Linked DNA regions of Homo sapiens: all the other regions are linked to region 4. The links are contacts of gene promoters, found by promoter capture Hi-C in blood cells and fetal thymus (Javierre and others, 2016). All regions are on one chromosome and are shown on one strand. Each heading gives the region's core, a stretch centred on a gene start or on the middle of the fragment in contact. The rest is flanking DNA. Distances are from core to core; before and after follow the strand shown.

What was found. The method cuts DNA at HindIII sites, captures the fragments that hold promoters and counts their contacts. A CHiCAGO score of 5 or more calls a contact.
Region 1: a fragment that was not itself captured here is called in contact with the fragment with the promoter of SBK2 in region 4 in 1 of 17 cell types (activated CD4 T cells); the score reaches 7.3 in activated CD4 T cells.
Region 2: a contact is called between a fragment that was not itself captured here and the fragment with the promoter of SBK2 in region 4, in 1 of 17 cell types (monocytes). The highest score is 5.8, in monocytes.
Region 3: a fragment that was not itself captured here is called in contact with the fragment with the promoter of SBK2 in region 4 in 1 of 17 cell types (monocytes); the score reaches 6.0 in monocytes.

The regions. Positions count from the first base shown.
Region 1 is chr19:55,173,124-55,176,258 of GRCh38, forward strand. SYT5 (synaptotagmin 5) reads right to left here. Exons shown (of 9, transcript NM_003180.3): 4 at 2,882-3,001; 5 at 2,586-2,753; 6 at 2,049-2,216; 7 at 1,759-1,876; 8 at 1,394-1,527; 9 at 1-561. The coding sequence ends at 361. Among named protein-coding and RNA genes, the nearest start is that of SYT5, 5.6 kb to the right of the region's middle. The HindIII fragment of the contact is 439 bases long and covers 1,427-1,865 here.
Region 2 is chr19:55,195,326-55,198,703 of GRCh38, forward strand. PTPRH (protein tyrosine phosphatase receptor type H) reads right to left here. Exons shown (of 20, transcript NM_002842.5): 8 at 3,318-3,378; 9 at 1,792-2,091; 10 at 1,197-1,463. Among named protein-coding and RNA genes, the nearest start is that of PTPRH, 12 kb to the right of the region's middle. The HindIII fragment of the contact is 4,783 bases long and covers 1-3,378 here.
Region 3 is chr19:55,233,432-55,236,424 of GRCh38, forward strand. The region is part of intron 17 of PPP6R1 (protein phosphatase 6 regulatory subunit 1); the gene reads right to left. Among named protein-coding and RNA genes, the nearest start is that of MIR6804, 4.0 kb to the left of the region's middle. The HindIII fragment of the contact is 3,764 bases long and covers 1-2,993 here.
Region 4 is chr19:55,535,557-55,538,807 of GRCh38, forward strand. SBK2 (SH3 domain binding kinase family member 2) reads right to left here and starts at 1,577. Exons shown (of 4, transcript NM_001370096.2): 1 at 1,498-1,577; 2 at 486-740. The coding sequence starts at 738. RefSeq lists a silencer at 2,186-2,480. The HindIII fragment of the contact is 39,425 bases long and covers 1-3,251 here.

The DNA of each region.
Region 1 (3,135 bases), core at 396-2,895, 360 kb before region 4:
CCCAGGAGCAGTGCAGGGATGGGCTGTGTTGGAAGAGAGAGGAGAGCAGACGAGGATGGCTGATTGTCAAAGCAGGGGGCAGGACCCGGGGGCAGGAGAAACCAGGCTGCCTTCCCTTCCCGGGGTCCCTGGGGCATCTGGGTGTGTCCGCGAGGGTCGGGGGAGTGTGCTGGAAAGTTGTCGTGATTGGCATCGTTGGGGGTGAGAAGACAGGAATGGTTCAGATGGTTGGGGTGGAAGGTGGGGGGAGGGTAACCGTCAGAGGAAGCTTAAGGGTGGGGCTGGCTTGGCTTTGGCCGGTCTCGGGAGTCTGGGGTCAGGGGCTAGAGTCCAGGCTTGGCCGGGGGCTTGGGGTGGGAGTCAGGGCGCAGGCAGCAGCCTCACTCGGTCCGGGGGCCGCAGCGAGTGCCACTGGGCAATGGGCCGCCGCGGGTTGGCCAGCATGTCCGCCCAGTGCCGCAGGCCAGCCCCGCCGGCGGCCGCCCCCACGGCCACCCTCCCGATGGCCTCGTTCTTGCCCAGCTTGTCGTAGTCCAGCACGGTCAGCTCCACCTGCACCTTCTGGGGTGGGCGCGGGAGGAAGAGGAGAGAGGAGCGTGAGGGGAGGAGGCCCCGGAAGGGGCGGTGTCCGTTTTCACGGCTGAGGGTACCTCTCGCTGCCACCCGAGGGCTCGGGGCCCCGGAGCTCGGGACGGGGGAGGGGGTGGGAGACGAGAGGGACGGAGCCTGCGGCGAGGAGGAGGCTCTGGCGCCTTTCTTCCTGCGCAGCCAGGTTTCTAAGGAAATGAACCCTCAGGACTCGGTTGCGGAGCGGGTGTGTTCGGCGCCTCCTGGGGGAGCAGCCTCCTAAGAGCCGCAAAGCTGCAGAACTTTAACAGGGGCCGGGCTAGGGTAGGCGCCGTCCCTAAAGAAGTGAGGGGAGGTCTCTTTTTCTTAGAACCACGTTCCTGAGGAGGGCGGGGCATCCTGGTCCTGCTTAGGGTGGGGAATCTGGTCCCGCTTAGGAGTGGGGCATCCTGGTCCCGCTTGGGGGCGGGGCATCCTGGTCCTGCTTGGGGGCGGGGCATCCTGGTCCTGCTTGGGGGCGGAGCATCCTGGTTCCGCTTGGTGGGGCGGGGCATACTGATCCTGCTTAGGGTGGAGCATCTGGTACTGCTTAGGGGTGGGACATCCCGGTCCCGCTTAGAGCAGATAGGACACCCACACCCAATTTTAAGGAGTCTCTTCCTGGAGTGGAAGAGGCTTCCTGGTCCTCATAGGAGGAAACAGACTGAGAGCATAACCTCAGACCCCCTCACCTGGTTTCTAGGGAGATGCTAAAAAGTCTCCCTCCGCCTAGCAATGGCGATTACTAAAGGTCTGGGCTCTTGGAGAAGGGCAGGTTTGAGCTCACCTGGACTTGGTCACAGGGCACCTCGAAGCTGAAAGCTTCGTTGTAATAGGGGTTCAGAGTGTTCTTCTTGATGGTGGTTTTCTTCTTCCGCACCTTTTTGCCGCCCTGCAGCAGGTGGACCTTGACGTATGGATCTGGGGAGAGGAAGGAGGAGTCTTATAGCTCCCCACTGCTGGGTTGTTGGACCAACATAGAAACACTGCCTACACCCTTCGGGTCTCCCTAGCTCTATGCCAAAATCCATGCCTTCCACAGCAGCCAGGTCCTCCCTGTCCCCGAAGAAACCCTCGAGGCTCAGAAACTGTCAGAACGAGAACCCACCCCACGCCATCCCCACACACCCCACTCCCTTGCTTCCCACACACCTGACAGTCCTCCTACGTCCATCTTCTTCAGGTTTTTAGCCTCCAGGACGATGACGGTGAGCTTCCCGGCCGTGGGGACATAGCGGAGGGAGAAGCAGATGTCCCCAAGCTTCTCCTGCTGAAAGGAGAGGGGCCCATCACCAGAGCCCCGGCTCCACATCCATGCCTCCTCAGGGGTACAATCCACGCCGCCCTGAGGGTCTGGAAAGCCTATGATCTGATTGGCTCAGGATGTTGTGGGCGGGACTGGGCCTGGGGGCGTGGCTCGGGGCGCGACCGCGCATGCTCACCTCCTCCCGCGGAGCCGCCTGCAGCTCCCGCCAGGCCTGCACTGGCCGCCCCAGGTCCACGGAGCTCATAGGGACCCGCACCTCCCCGATGGCGTCATTGCGAGAGAAGCGGTCGAAGTCGTACACCGCCATGACCAGCACCCTGCCCCCCAGCTCCACGTAGGGGACCTGGAGTGCACAGAGAATCCGCAGTAGAGAGCAGGAAGTCAGAGATAGGGTGAGGCACAGCACAACCAGAAGGAAGGCATGGAGTGAGGCAGCGAGGGTCGAAGCGAACAGTTGGGGGAACTCAAATGGGAAAGTCCAGGGATCCATGCGGAAAAAAATCACGGGTCAGTGGAACCCAAATCGTACCGCCCAAGGACCAGGCTACAGCCCAGGAGTCAGTAGTGCCCAGGGTCCAGTGGAATAGCCCCAGAGCTGGTAGCTGCCACCTGAGCTGTGGCCGCCTCCAGGAAAAGCGGAAGGGGTCGGTCCCTAGTGTTCCAGGGACTGGGCACAGGCTATGGAACACGGGGCCTGAAGGCAGGAGCTCACCTTGAAGGCGAAGGTCTCCCCAAAGTGAGGGTTCAGCGTCTGCCGATGCACCTTGGTCTCGTACCGCCTCCGTTTGTCCGGCAGCAGGTAGACCCGCACATAGGGGTCCGAGGAGCCACCAAGATCCAAGGCTGCCAATCCCATTGCTTGCAGAATGCCCACCAGCAGCTGCAGGGCCCAGGCACAGTGGGGGAGGTGGGGAACACTAGTCTTAGCCTCCCTTCCATGGCTCCTTTCAGAAGGGGTTGGAACCCCCGGGATCCTCCCTCCAAAGCTTCCCCTTCCTCCACACCCACCTGGCCACTCTGGAAGTCATAATCCAGGGAGTACTGCAGTCGTCCTAGCTCATGCTTGTCTGCCACCTGCTGCCCTGGCCCGGATGGTGCTGGCTCCAGCTCCTCTACTTCTGGCTGCACCTTAAGGAGCCAGGGGTAAGGGTGGGTGAAGTCTTCCCCTGATAGCAGTATCCATCAGGCTCAGAAGCCAAGGGAGGCTCACAGGTCCCTTGGGCTATACCTGAGCTCTCACAGGCTAAGCAGATTCAGTATTT
Region 2 (3,378 bases), core at 442-2,941, 340 kb before region 4:
AAAAAATAAAAAATAAAAAATAAAAAGTTAGCCAAGCATGGTGGCACATGCCTGTGATCCCAGATACTTGGGTGGCTGAGGCACAAGAATTGCTTGAACCCTGGTAGCAGAGGTTGCAGTGAGCAGAGATCATGCCACTGCACTCCAGCCTGGGTGACAGAGTGAGTCTCAAAACAAAAACAAAAACAAAAAAACAAATTATGCTCAGTGAAAGTGGCCAGTCACAAAGAAACACATAATGTATGATTGCATTTTTTTTGTTTTTGAAACAGGGTCTCGTTCCTTCACCCAGGCTGGAGTGCAGTGGCCCCGATCATAGTTCACTGCAGTCTCAACCTCCTGGGCTCAAGTGATCCTTCTGACTCAGCCTCCTGAGTAGCTAGGACTACAGACACACACCACCACAGCTGGCTAATTTTTTAAAATGTAGAGATGGGGTCTCACTCTGTTGCCCAGACTGGTCTCGAACTCCTGAGCTCAAGTGATCCTTCCACCTCAGCCTCCCAAAGTGCTGGGATTCCAGGCATGAGCCACTGTGCCCACTCTATGATTGCATTTTAATGAAACGTCCCAGAGAGGCAAATCTATAGAGATTGAAAGTGGATGAGAGATTTCCGAGGGCTGGGGGCTGGGGAATGGGAGAACTAGGGGGTGGTGGCTCAGCGGGGTGAGCTTTCTGTTGGGGGTAATGAAAATGTTCTAAAATTGATAGTGATGATGGTTGCACAATGTTGTGAATATAAGAAGAGTCACTGAATTGTAACTTTAAGTGGTGAGTTGTGGATGGCGCGGTGGCCCACACCTGTAATCCCAGCACTTTGGGAGCCTGAGGCAGGCAGATCACCTGAGGTCAGGAGTTCGAGACCAGCCTGGCCGACATGGTGAAACTCCATCTCTACTAAAAATCCAAAAATTAGCCGGGCGTGGTGGCACGTGCCTGTAGTCCCAGCTACTCAGGAGGCTGAGGCAGGAGAATCACTTGAACCCGGGAGGCAGAGGTTGCAATGAGCCAAGATCGTGCCACTGCACTCCAGCCTGGACAAGAAGAGCAAAACTCCATCTCAAAATACAAAATAAAAAAGATGTTTCAAAGGAAATGAGAAACAAAAGAGTCCCACTGATTTCCTCACAATGGGGCCTGATGGGGTCTACCGAGAATTTCATCATAGCTGGCTGGCCCGCGCGGCTCCGCTCACCTGCACTCTCGGTGTGGCAGACCACAGAGTGAGACACGACCTTCATTCCGTCCCAGATGGTCGTGATGGTGGCTGGGTAGGACCGAGCCGGCCCGAGACCCAACACAGACACAGCCTCCCCACATGAAGATCTGTCCTGGGAGCCCCGCTGTCCTCCCACCTCCAACTCAAAGGCCTCGTAGCCTCCCTGGGGGCAGGACCAGATCAAGTTGACTCCATAGCCCGCTGAGGTGCTGACACAGGAAGTGATGGTGACTGTGTCTGGGTCTGGGTGAAGGAAGCAAGAGGTCAGCAGTGCCATCCAAGGTGGCTTTCCACCCCCTCCACCCCTACCCCCAGTTTTCTGAGACGAGCCCATCCCTTCCTCGCCAAATCCAAACTACCTCATCTTCCCTCCTTTTCTGTCCTCCCCGAATGGACACAAATAAGTCCTTTTAAACTACAACTCCCATGAGGCCTTGGGCTCCTCCATCACTGCAGCTCATGAAGTCATGGCCTGTGGCCTGATGGAATTTGTATTCCATTCATCTCTCAGCTCGCAAGGACTGTGAGCTAAGCCCAGTTCACCACTTGAAGGCAGGAAGGGGATTCTCACATGTGGACGCACAGAGGCTCTGCGTGGAACTGGCTACGTCATTCCTCTCTGCCCACACGGTGAAATTGTACAACGTCCCGGGTTCCAGGGCCTCCACTTTGTACCACGTCTCATTGGTCCTGCTGGTCTGGTTGACCCAATTCGCTTGGGGATCTTGCCCCCTCCGGGGATGTCCCTTGCTGGCCCACTGGACCCAGTATACGTACAACTGAGAGTGGGGGTCTCCAGGGGCCTTCCACCACAGCATGACTGAGTTCTTAGTCTGAGTTTCATTCTGGAGATCTGTGACCTCATTGGGAGCTGAGAAGTGAGAACAGAGGCCTAAGGGGGTATCCTCGAAGACCCTCCTACCCCAGCCTGTCTGCCTCTCCCCCACAGCAAAGCTGAGATATCCATTATTGATGGCTCCAGTGGCTAAGGAGGCTGAACCACAGGAAAGAGTCTAGATACCCAAAGACCATGGGGACCAGAATCTCCTAGCCCTCTCCGTCCCCTGGCTACAGCCCTGGGTCCCACCCTGTCATCTTTCTGTTCTTCCCAAATGCACACCAATTCCACCTACTGAAACTACAGTTCCCATGAGGCTATGGATTCTCTGTATCGCTTCAGCTTATGAAGTCATGGCCCCATGGTGTGATGGGATTTGTAGTCCTCCACCTCTCATGGCCCTCGAGATCTGATCTCTGTATTTTCTTTCCCACAGGAACCCCAGGTAGGGTGTCTTCTCACTCTAGACACACCACGTTTGTAGAGGGAGCTGATAAATTTCATCTTTTTAGCCCAAATGACCAAGGATTAAAGAGTTCCAGGTTCAGGCCAGGCATAGTGGCTCACTCCTGTAATCTCAGTGCTTTGGGAGGCCGAGGCGGGAGGATCACTTGAGCCCAAGAATTCGACACCAGCTTGGGCAACATAAGGAGACCCTCTCTCTACAAAAAATATTTTTTTAAATGAGCTGGGCATGGTGGCGCATGTTTGTGGTCCCAGCTACTCAGGAGGCTGAGGTGGGAGAATCAGTTGAGCCCAGGAGGTCGAGGCTGCAGTAACCATGATCACACTACTGCACTCCAGCCTGGGCAACAGAGCAAGACCCTGTCACACACACAAAAAAGAATGAACCTAGTCTCCAGAGTGATTTTGATTTTTCTCATGAGTGGGACCCACCGTGCCTAGGCTGAGAGGTGGGGCCCTCTCGCTTCATCTAATTCCCTGGGACCAGCTGTTGGCTATTGTCCAGCTGGTGACTTTGTCAGCTCCTGAGAGGTGGTGCTGGACAATTGAGGGCTCCCCCTGACCCCAAAGAGTCCATTTCCCAAAGGGAGAAAAAACAGGTCCCACAGCTTGGAAAGCCCTGTCTGCTAAGAAACGACACCCACTAGGAACGGGACCTACAGGTTTAAGCTCCGGCCGGTGAGGCTGGAGAGGCCCATGGGTACTCTTCATCTCCCAAGGAGCTCCCAAAGTCCTTTCATCTTTTTCCTTCCCCCATCCTAATAGGGCTGGGTTCAGAACCGACTGTGTCTCACCAGTGGCTGCAGTGAGGGTGCTGTTATAGCCTCTGACCTCATTCCTCTCGGCCCAGACGGT
Region 3 (2,993 bases), core at 47-2,546, 300 kb before region 4:
TGTCCCGGAGGCTAGCCAGGGCAACCAGGCAAGAAAAGGAAATTAAAATCATCCAGATTTGAAAGGAAGGAAAATGAACTCTATTCACATGACATGATTCTGTACATAGAAAATCCTAAGGAGTCCACTAAAACTATCAGAACTCATACATTAGTTCAGCAAGGTTGCAGGATGAAAGATCAACATACAAAAACCTATTGTATTTTCATATACTTGTAACAATCTGAAAACAATTTCAAGAAAATTCCATTTACAATAGTAACAGAAAGAAGAAAACAGGAATAAACTTAAAAGAAATACAAAGCCTCATACTCTAAAACCTACGAAACATTGTTGAAAGAAATTTTAAGACCTATATAAAAAGACATCCATGTTCACGTATTAGAAGACGCAAGGTGGCTTCTTGGTTGAAATTGACAAGCTGATCCTAAAATTCATATGGAATCTCAAGAAATCCCAAATAGGGCAAAACAATCTTTAAAAAGAAGAACAAGGTTGGAAAACTAAAACCTCCCATTTTCTTTTTTCTGTGAGATGGAGTTTCGTTCTTGTCACCCAGACTGGAGTGCAATGAATGGTGCGATCTCAGCTCACTGCAACCTCTGCCTGCCAGGTTCAAGCGATATTCCTGCCTCAGCCTCCTGAGTAGCTGGGATTACAGGCACCCACCACAGCCGGCTAATTTTTGTATTTTTAGTAGAGATGGGGTTTCACCATGTTGGCCAGGCTGGTCTCAAACTCCTGACCTCAGGTGATCCATCCACCTTGGCCTCCCAAAGTGCTGGGATTACAGGTGTGAGCCACCGTGCCCAACAAACCTCCCATTTTCAAAACTTACTATAAAGCAACAGCAACCAGGCCAGTGTGGTACTGGATAAAAACAACACACAGACTGATAGAACAGAACAGAGAGGGAAGAAACAAACTCATACATATGGTCAAATATTTCCTTTTTACACAGGTGCCAAGATGATTCAGTGGAGAAAGGACAGTGTCTTCAACAACTGGTGCAGGGAAAACTGGTTATCTATATGTAAAGGGATGAAGGTGGACCACCTCACATCATATACAAAATTTAGCTCAAAATGAATGGAAAACCATAGAAATAATGCTATAAAACTCTTAGAAGAAAAGAGAGGGCTAAGTCAAGATGCTGGATTTGGCAGTGACACACTTGTGCACCAACAACACGTGCAAGGGTATTCACAGCGGCCGCACTCACAGCGGCTGCACTCACAGCAGCGAGCAACAGGAACCTGCCCAAAGGCCTGTCAACTGCAGAACAAGCAATTCAGCTGCAGCTCATCATGCATGGCACTGCCCCACTGCACGAGAGCCAGGGGCACCCAAACACACAACAGGGAAGGAGCTCACAAGCAGAGTGTTGAGCAACAGAGGTCAGACATAAAAGGAGATGCTGTATGCTATATCAAGTGAAAACAGAGACAAAACTCATCTACAGGGTTAGAAGCCAGGACAACTTTACCCTCAGAAGGGAGGATACTGGCTAACAGAGGGGATGTGGGTACTGGGAAGGTCCTGCTCCTGGGTCTGGGCACTGAGGAAGGATATCCATTGGCCACACACTCAGGATCTGTATGTACACTTGTCTATACGCATGTTACATGTCAATAAAAAGTGAAAACAGCCTAATTCCGAAATCAAAAGTCATGAGTCAAAAACTCAGTTGCAGATGATGACTTAGTGTTCAGGCTGTCAAATCTACATGGCATGAACCCATTTCATCACAGCGACTCTGGGGCCGGCCAGTATTAAGAGAAAAAAAAAAAACAATGTAACATTTGCACTAAAATGTCATCACAGCCTGATTGGAGAGGGACGTCATCATCTCTCATTTTACTGGAATTAGAGAAGAGAGAAGCTGCCTGGGACCATCTTACCCCCCTTTCTAGGAAAACGTGTGAGAGCTAACACGAGGAAGTGAAGTGAAGGGATGAAGGAAGGAGACAGGGAGGCGGGAAGAGAGAGACACACACAGACCAAGCCATACCTCAGGACCTGCCTATTTTTTCAGCCACAGAGATTATCCCTTTCTTTTCATAACTTAACTCATTTGAATTAGATTCCTTTTTTTTTTTTTTTCTGAGACAGAGTCTCGCTCTGTCGCCCAGGCTGGAGTACAGTGGCGCAATCTTGGCTCACTGCAAGCTCCGCCTTCCGGGTTCACGCCATTCTCCTGCCTCAGCCTCCCAAGTCGCTGGGACCACAGGTGCCCGCCACCACGCCCGGCAAATTTTTTGTATTTTTAGTAGAGACGGGGTTTCACCATGTTAGCCAGGATGGTCTTGATCTCCTGACCTCGTGATCCGCCCGCCTCAGCCTCCCAAAGTGCTGGGATTACAGGCGTGAGCCACCGTGCCCGGCTGATTTTTTTTAATTTGTTGATTCTTTTTTTTTTTTTTTTTTTTGAGACCAGGTCTCTGTCACCCAGACTGGAGTGCAGTGGTGCGATCTCAACTCACTGCAACCTCCGCCCCCCAGGGTAAAGCGATCCTTCCACCTCAGCCTCTCAAGTAGCTGGGACTACAGGCACACGTCACCACATCCAGGTAATTTTTGTAGAGACAGGGTTTCGCTATGTTGCCCAGGCTAGGTCTCAAACTCCTGAGCTCAAGCGATCCATCCACCTTGGCCTCCTCCCGAAGTACTGGGATTACAGGCTTGAGCCACTGTGCCCGGCTAATTTGTTGATTTCTTAATGCATCATCTACCTTTTTTTTTGAGACAAGTCTGGCTCTGTTGCCCAGACTGGAGTGCAGTGGTATGATCTCGGCTCACTGCAACCTCTGCCTCCCTGGCTCAAGCCATCCTCCCACCTCAACCTCCCGAGTAGCCAGGACTACAGGTGCACACCACCATGCCCATCTAACTTTTGTATTTTTTGTAGAGACAGGATCTCCCTATGTTGCCCAGGGCTGGTCTCAAACTCCTGAGCTCAAGCAATCCATCTGCCCTGGCCTCCCAAAGTACTG
Region 4 (3,251 bases), core at 327-2,826:
GGCAAGGGAGTTCCTCAAAACACAGTTTTTGGCAGGGCACCGTGGCTCATGCCTGTAATCCCAGCAATTGGGAGGCTGAGGCAGGCGGATCACTGGAGGCCAGGAGTACGAGACCACCCTGGCCAACAGAGTGAAACCTCATCTCTACTAAGAAAGAAAAATACACACACACACAAATGTAGCTGGGTGTGGTAGTGCATGCCTATAGTCCTAGCTACATGGGAGGCTGAGGCAGGAGGAACACTTGAACCTGGGAGGTGGAAGTTGCAGTGAGATTGTGCCACTGCACTCCAGCCTGGGCGGCAGAGCCAGACTGTCTCAAAAACAACCAACCAACCAAAAGAACAAAAAACAAAAAACACACAGCTTTGGAGGGCAGAGGTAAGACTTGATTCAGGCCTGCCAGCCTCCCCAGCCTGGGCTACCCCAGGCCCGTGCCCCGCCCCCAGCTGAACCCTGCCACCTCTGGCCCCACAGCCTCGTACCTTTCTGACGATGGGTGACCAGAAGGACGCGGCCATAGCAACCCTGGCCCAGGGGACGCACTTCCTCGTAGAGCTCGTCCACCTCGGCTCGGACCAGGGTCTGAGCACTCAGCGTCATCATGTCCTCCAGCGCGCGGGCAGCCTCCTGGCCCTGCTGGAGCTCCTCTAATGTCAGGCCGCCCAGACCCTCCTCCTCGCTGTCCTCCGAAGCCCCTGCCTCCGCCGGCCCTTCCTCAGACTGTTTGCCGGGCATCTCTGCGAGAACAGAGAGGGGTGCCCAGGCTCAGGTCCCAGGCCCAAGGGAGGAGGGGACTGGGGGTCTGGACTCCTGGGTCTGAGGGAGGAGGGGCTGGGGGCTCATCGCGCTTCTCATTGTGACTCAGTCTCCCTCTTGGTGAGAGGTGGGGAGACAAGTCTGGTGTGAGTTCAAGCCCCAGGTCACAGATGTCCCTGCCCGCGTGCCGCCGCCGCCACCCGCCCACCCTGAGGTTGAAAGATGAACCAGATAACTGAGACTCCCCCATCTTGTTTCCAAAGCAAACAGACTTGGGCCCTGGGGGTGGATGAGTAGACTCTGTCTCCTGAGAACAAACAGGTGCTCTTGGGCTCAGGGCTGGGAGGGCGGGCTGTGCAGAGGGCCTGGGACGCCTGGGTCCTGCATGGGACCGAGCACTTGGGATCAGTCCCCAAGCTCCTGACAGGCCTGGGGTCCCACTTTCACAGCCCACCCACCTCCCTCCGACCCAGCCCCCCAGCCCCTCCTCCGCCAGGCCCAGGGGTCCAGGCCCCCAGCCCACCTCTCTCCCGGAACCTCATACAATTCACACAACTGGGGACCCCCTGATTCTGTTTCCCTCACCCTCCACCGCTCTACAGCCTCCAGGTGCAGCCCAGGCTCCCCTGAGGGACCGAGGACTCGGGCCACCTGGTACAGTCACCCTCAGGTGCTGCCCACCTCAGGCCAGGGCACCTTGCCCACCTCCCAACCTGGGCTCAGACCTCCAGACCTCACCTCCTCCAAGGCCCTCCTGACCCTCCGGCCGCCGGCTGTGGTCAGTGCCCGGCACTTAGGGCTCATGCCAGCAGAGGCCTGCCTAGGAGCAAGACCCCGCCCCGACTTTGGGGGTCGTAAGGCCCCGCCCCTGGGCCCGCCCCTTCTGCCCCCACTGGGAGCAGAGCGACATCGTGTGATGACTCCTGGAACTGGCTGTGGTCAGGTGAATACCCTGACCCAAGAGTTGAGCCCTCCTCCTTCAGACCCAGGAGTCCAGGCCCCAGCCCCTCCTCCTCCCTCAGACTCAGGAGTCCAGGCCCCCAGCGCCTCCTCCCTCAGACCCAGGAATCCAGTCTCCCAGTGCCTCCTCCCTCAGACCCAGGAGTCCAGGCCCCAGCCCCTCCTCCCTCAGACCCAGGAGTCCAGGCCCCCAGCTCTTCTTCCCTCAGACCCAGGAATCCAGGCCCCCAGCTTTCCCTCCCTCAGACCCAGGAATCCAGTCCCCCAGTGCCTCCTCCCTCAGACCCAGGAGTCTAGACCCCAGCCCCTCCTCCCTCAGACCCAGGAGTCTAGGTCTCCAGCCCCTCCTCCCTCAGACCCAGGAATTCAGGTCTCCAGCCCCTCCTCCCTCAGACCTAGGAGTCCAGACCCCCAGCCCCTCCTCCCTCAGACCCAGGAGTCCAGGCCCCAGCCCCTCCTCCCTCAGACCCAGGAGTCCAGGCCCCAGTCCCTCCTCCCTCAGACCCAGGAGTCCAGGCCTCAGCCTCCCCCACCCATCTGAAGTTTTCCGGCAGAACTGAGGCCTCCCCACCCCCTCAAGGCCTCTCTTCCCAGTTGCTCCAGCACCTGCTTCCCGCCCCTCTGAGTCTGAGGTCATCCCACACTGCATCGTTCTGGAATCTCATTGTCTCATTCTTTCCCCAAACTAGACCCCAGCATCTGATCCCCTGGACACCCCTCTCCAAGCACTTGTGTCTGACCTGTCAATGGGGCATTGATGGGGCAGCTGGGTGGGGTCAAGGCAGGGGTGGGTTCCAGAAATGATTTCATTTTCTACACGGGACCCGGACTCCTGGGCCTGATGGAGGAGGGGGTTGAGGACCTGGACTCCTAGGTCTGAGGGAGGAGGGGGTTGAGGACCCGGACTCCTGGGCCTGAGGGTGGAGGGGGTTGAGGACCTGGACTCCTGGGCCTGAGGGAGGAGGGGGTTGAGGACCTGGACTCCTGGGTCTGAGGGAGGAGGGCCTGAGGGCTCCTGATTCCAAAGAGAGGAATAACAATAAAAATAGTTTGAAAGCGCATAACAGGAATACAGGCCAGTGAGTGCCTCCCTGCTGTAAGCACAGGGAGATTAAGCCCCACTAGGAAGTCCCCAAGCCTTGGGCCACAGTGGGACTTCAGACCCCTGTTTTTTTCTGGGACGGTTGCACCCACCCTTCAGGGTTTTTTATTTCTTTTTTTTTTTTTTTTTTTTGCTTTTTGAGACGGAATCTCGCTCTGTCACCCAGACTGGAGTGCAGTGACGTGATCTCGGCTCACTGCAACCTCCAACTCTCTGGTTCGAGTGATTCTCTTGCCTCAGCCTCCCGAGTAGCTGGAATTACGGGCATTTGCCACCACGCCTGGCTAATTTTTGTATGTTTTAGTAGAGACAGGGTTTCACCATGTTGGCCAGGATGGTCTTGATCTCCTGACCTGGTGATCCACCCGCCTCAGCCTCCCAAAGTGCTGGGATTACAGAGGTGAGCCACTGTGCCTGGGCTATTTTTATT